Linked DNA regions of Homo sapiens: region 1 is linked to region 2. Evidence: promoter capture Hi-C in 16 types of primary human blood cells and fetal thymus (Javierre and others, 2016). All regions are on one chromosome and are shown on one strand. The core of a region is centred on a gene start or on the middle of the fragment in contact, and the rest is flanking DNA. Distances in the headings are between cores, read along the strand shown. Region 1 overlaps MIR3976HG (MIR3976 host gene). Region 2 holds the start of L3MBTL4 (L3MBTL histone methyl-lysine binding protein 4).

The links. The method cuts DNA at HindIII sites, captures the fragments that hold promoters and counts their contacts. A CHiCAGO score of 5 or more calls a contact.
Region 1: a contact is called between a fragment that was not itself captured here and the fragment with the promoter of L3MBTL4 in region 2, in 2 of 17 cell types (M2 macrophages and M0 macrophages). The highest score is 6.0, in M2 macrophages.

What each region holds. Positions count from the first base shown.
Region 1 is chr18:5,911,835-5,914,534 of GRCh38, reverse strand. It overlaps MIR3976HG (MIR3976 host gene), which reads right to left. Exons shown (of 10, transcript NR_172496.1): 10 at 128-427. All of the region lies in intron 1 of LOC121725015 (a long non-coding RNA gene), which reads right to left. Among named protein-coding and RNA genes, the nearest start is that of TMEM200C, 18 kb to the right of the region's middle. The HindIII fragment of the contact is 4,191 bases long and covers 1-2,700 here.
Region 2 is chr18:6,413,557-6,416,256 of GRCh38, reverse strand. It overlaps L3MBTL4 (L3MBTL histone methyl-lysine binding protein 4), which reads left to right and starts at 1,346. Exons shown (of 19, transcript NM_001330559.2): 1 at 1,346-1,456. RefSeq lists a silencer at 1,304-1,843. The HindIII fragment of the contact is 5,527 bases long and covers 1-2,700 here.

The DNA of each region.
Region 1 (2,700 bases), core at 4-2,503, 500 kb after region 2:
CATTGCACATGTGAGTGGATGGTGTGAAGAGATGGCAAGCATTGTGTCCAAGCTCTCACAGTTAGTGATAAAGTGATAACTCAGATTTAGGTCTGCTGATGCTTGAGGTCCTAACCAATGCACTCTATTGCTCTCTCCAGACTTTATTAATAGCCAGAGATTCCAAGTTGAGGATCCCAGTTTAAGAAGGAAAAGCAGTGGGTAATTTTTAGCCATGGGACATGATAACAAAAACAATCTTTATCCTGCTGTTAGATCATCCTGCTTTCCACAGGGCTTCCCACAGTCCGAGTCCAAGGAAGATGCAGAGAAGAGGCCCTGAGCTGACTCATCCACTGGTCAGAAGATTCTAGATGACAGAGCTTTCCTCAGAGAATTCCAATTTTCATTAGCAGGCTGAAGACAGGTGGTACTCCTTCAAGACAGGCTACAACAGAATACCTTGCTTTGAGCACTTTTAAATATGAGAATCTCCTAATGACAGCAGAATTAAAGAGTGGGGACAAAAATAGTCAAGATTTTTTAAAAAGTAAACTTTTTTCAGTGCACTAATTTCTATATAATGTAACAGATATTTCTATATCATATGACAAAGGAAGCTGTCATATACACCATGAATATTTGATATAAATCACAGACTTATAAATTCTAAGATTATAATCAGATTACTTAACCAGCATTTACTTGGGGCATGACTGCAGAGCTAGCTGCAGATGCAATGGTGCAGGTCTGACTGGAGAGCAGGAGTTGGGGACATTGCAGAGTCAGAGAATCCCCAGAGTCCCCAGCATCTGGGATGGGAACAGCTTAGAATGAGAGGTGGGACAACACCCAAAACAAATGTTACTTCCCTTACAGTTGTGCCCATTAGATGTTTTGGAATATCCTTTCTCTACGCTGAGCCACTGCCTCACGTTTTTAGACTCCGCAGCTTCGCTCCCTGGAGGGGAACATTGTAGGTTGAGGGGTGGTGCCTCTCTCTCGGCATTGTGTGATAGTCCAGGACAGTTGGGCCCGTGGAATTGTATTAAATCAGTGGAAGGAGGGTTTACTACACTTAGCTTAGCAAATGGCTTACGTGGTTCTCAAAGTCATCCCCACATCAGCAGCATCAGTTAAGCCAGGGGTCTGCAATTTTTTCTTTAACAGTCTAGAGAATAAATACTTTAGGCTTTGTGGGCCAAGAAACAAAATTGAGCATCTTATCTGGGTAGTTATTATATAACAAGGGAGAAAAACAAAATTCCACTAAGTTTTCATTGATGAAATTCAAACTGTAATATTGGGTACAATTTTTGTGTAATGCAGGTCTACTAATGAAAAGAATGTAATTGTGAGGGGGGACAGAATTTTGCTTAATTGGGGTTCAAAATTAGTGTTGCCTATCATGGAATCATTTGCAAAGGTTCATCTGTAAAAACTATTACTAATTTGCAGACCTTACAAAAACAGGTGAAAACATGGATTTGGCCCTAGGGCTAGACCTGGGAACTGGTTAGAAATGCAAATTATAAGGCCCACTCCAGATCTACTAAATTAGAAAGTCTGGGGGTGGGGCTGGTAACTTGTTTCTTAACAAGCCCTCTAGGGTATTCCGATGCACGCTACTATTTGAGAACTACTGGTTTAAAATAAATGTGGAAGGGCCAGAGTTAGCCTTGCCCACCCTGTTATTACCATGGTAACGTGCATTTCTCAATCACGGTCTTCAGCTCAATCTTCCCATTACCATTATTTCAATGAGTTTGGGTGTATATTTACATTTTTAAAAATAACCTTTTGGGTCTTAGGCAACTTAAGAAACATGGCACGCCCACACCCACTCTGCAATTTCTAAACAGAGGAGCAGGAACTCCTCTGGGAAGTGGCTCAAAGCCAGCAAGGAGAAAGCACTTCTCACCAATGCTGGGAGCATAAGCTCTCAGGCAAGTCGTCCTCAGTAGGTATCCCTAGATATCCGTAATAGAAGTTGTGACTTCTCACCTTTACAATTGTTACCTCAGCACTACCTCTGGCCAGTGAAAAATAAATGGAGCTACAACATAGAGGCTGTTTCTTGATTGAATTGGCGGGCTCAGTGTTATCACCATTTCAAATGATTTATAAATAATATTTTTGTAGCAAACTCAGAGGGAAGAACTATAGAGACTGTCCCCTGGGTTAATTCCCTTCCCACTCTGACTCATGTTTTTCTCTCTAAACCTCTGCCTCCATTTCTCCATGTGTATGATGGAAACAATCAATAAAACCTCATTGACAGGTTTGTCTTGAGAATAAAATTAGGTTTGGGAAGGTCTCAGCAGTTGATGAATGCTGAGAATTATTCTTACATATGATCGACCTAACAGACTGACAAGCTGATGTTGACGTTGACAAAAAGCGGGTAGAGAACCTATTATCCATGCAGTATCTCTCCTGTGGCTAAACACACCACTTCCTTCTCCATCTGGCATCTTTTAGGCATACAGAATTTTTTTTGCCACAAAATTCAAATAGCTCTTTCGACCCATTGGGCAGGAAGCCGGTGCAAACATTTCAAATAGGTTCCCCACCAGCCTGACCCCACCACTACTCACTCTGAAATTCAGATCCCTTGAGTCGCTTGGGGGTTAGATAACAAAAGGAGAAGGTGGAGGCCATTGTCTGTGGGAGAGCTTGGCAAGTCTTCTAGGAGCAGCTTCCAGAAGATTCCTCTTAATA
Region 2 (2,700 bases), core at 97-2,596:
TTTTTTTTTTTGAGTTGGAGTTTCGCTCTGTTGCCCAGGCTGGAGTGCAGTGGTACTATCTCAGCTCACTGGAGCCTCTGCCTCCCAGGTTCAAGCGATTCTAGTGTCTCAGCCTCCCGAGTAGTTGAGATTACAGGCGCCCGCCACCACACCCAGCTAATTTCGTATTTTTAGTAGAGACAGGGTTTCACCATGTTGGCCAGGCTGGTCTCGAACTCCTGACCTCAAGTGATCCGCCCTCTTCGGCCTCCCAAAGTGCTGGGATTACAGATGTGAGCCGCCATACCTGGCTAATATATTTTTCTTAACTGACTAGAGCACAGAACACAAATCGTGTGTTTGCACTTACAAATTTCTATGATCATTGTTCCTAGTTTAAAAACTTCATTAGCAAAGGGGTTTATATTTCTCTTTTCAGTAAGGACACGAAATTATGTTTCAACAATGCCCAGTCTCACCTAAAAAGCAAGTTTTCATTCTCTGTTTATGGTAGCCCACGACAAACCAAAAAGATCATTTTGGATGGTATCATTGTTAATCCTGCTAAATGATTCAATTTCCTGCTGAAAGCAACAAACTAATACTTATTTAGTACCTACTATTTATTATTTGCATACTAGGGTTTATACACAAGGCGTCCTATGAAAGAACATTTCATTCAAAAGTCACAACATATAGTCTTCAATTATCAGCTACCTTTATTTGTAAGCCAAAATAAATGATTTAATACAGTCCTCCCAAACTGGGAGACAATGCTTTGAGAAAGGCCAAAGCTAGCCAGTAAGGCCATAAGTTCCATGAGGGCAGGATCTACCCAGCTCCTGTTTCCTGCTCAATTCCAAGCAGTTAGAACAGGGTCAGTAAACACTGCTTGCCACTTGGAAAGAGTATTCTTTTATTTGGAAATGGTATCCAGGTACTCGTGAGTAGCAAAGTCAAGAGCAGGAAAGGGGAGTGGGGGAGGTTGCAAAATCGGAGCGAGCAGCAGGACCGAGAGGGATCCGGAGGAGAGAGCCTTCAGACGGTGAACCCCAAGAGCTGGGATGAAGCATGGGTGAGCTACTGGGACTTCGCTGCCAGGGAGCAAGCTGGCAGGCAGGAAGTAGCCAAGATTTGGGGGAATCCTTCCCAGGGAACGAATACAGAGAAGGACGCATCTGAAAATTCCGCCGCAGCCACCTCCCTCCCATGGGAAAGCCCCGACCTCGGCGGGCCCAGCGCCACCCGGCTCCCCGGGGTGTGGAACACTGAGCGAGGCAGGTGCGGCGGGAGCATGCGCGCGGGGCGGGCAGGGGGCGGCTCCCGCGCCCCCACCCCGCGCGTGCACCCTCGCGCCCCTCCCGCCGGGCACCGCGGGGCAGCGGCGCCGCAGCCTGGGCTGGCGGAACCTCGCGCTCCGACTCGCCCCCCGCCTGTAGCTCGGTCGGCGTTGCGGGCAGGCGCCGCTCCGCTGGGGGTAAGAAGGACGCCGCCGCCCGCGTGGGATGGTCGCGAGCCCGCGTGGGTGCCCACGGCCGCCGCCGCGCGGGGTGGCCCCATCCCCGGGCAGGTAGAGGGGCCTGCACGACTCCCGCGGCGAGGGCCGGGCCGGTGGGGGCGGTGGCGGTTGGGGATAGCCCCGGTCCCGGCCCAGGCTCTTTCTCTTTCTCTTTCGCCGCCGGGGCGCGCGCCGGGCTCCCCGCGAGAGGCGCTGCCTCACTTGTCGCCTACTTTGGACGGGCGCGGCCGCCGCAGAGCCCGGCGCCTCGGTCAGCCGCGAGGGCAGGGTCGGGGTGCCAGGCGCGGCTACCTGGGCGCCCTGGAGCCAGCGCAGCCTGGGACCGGGGGAGCGGGACGGGACGGGACTCCTGAGGGCCCCCAGGCAGTCCTCCGGCCATCGAGCGCCCGGCGGTGGGCATTTGGCTTTTGTTTCCTCTGGGGCTAACGCCCCCGTCTGCCCGCGTGTCCCCCTCAGCCGACAAGTGTCGTGTGCCCGGACGGGCGAGCGCTGCCTCCCTCCACCCGCTTTCTGCCCTTGTCTTCCTCTGCGAGTTCTGCCCAGCCTCGGGAGCGGGAGCCCAGGGAGTGCGCGCAGGGCGGGCGGGCGCCTGGCCAGCCTGGGACGGCGGCTCTCAGGCTCCTGCCACCGCCTGGAACTGCGGGGGGCGCGCCGGCCACAGTCGCCCTCGCCTGCTCTCCGGGCCTTCTTGGGCCCGCTTGGTCCCAGGTGGACGCGAGTCGAGCTGGGCACACCTGGGCCAGCGCCGCACTTACCTGCGGGATTGGTGAGAGCGTTTTCGCGAGGTCGCAAATTCCGGGTGGGTATTGTCCCCTGCTTTTGATCTCCCTTAGTCACTGGTTAAAGTGCGAAGTGTGCTTTATCTTACATATGCCTTTAGAGGGACATTCTTAATGCGCCAATGCCCCGAGGTGGAACTAAATAAAGGGAAGGCCTGGTCATTGTTACTGTTGAGACTGCTGTACTTAACAGTCAGAGGAAGGCAGCTGGTCACCACGACCCACTCGGCCATTCCCATGCTGAAGACTCGCTCTCACTTCACACTTGTTTGGACTCCACTATGACTTGCTGGTGGCCCATCTCCTGGATCCTTCTGTTGGAGCTGTTCTAGAAGATGCTTGTGGCAGGCTCCAGTTTCAGTCCTTGGCTGAAATAAGTGTAGTGTGGCTCTTCGGTTTTCTAATCTATTCCACCTAAAAAGG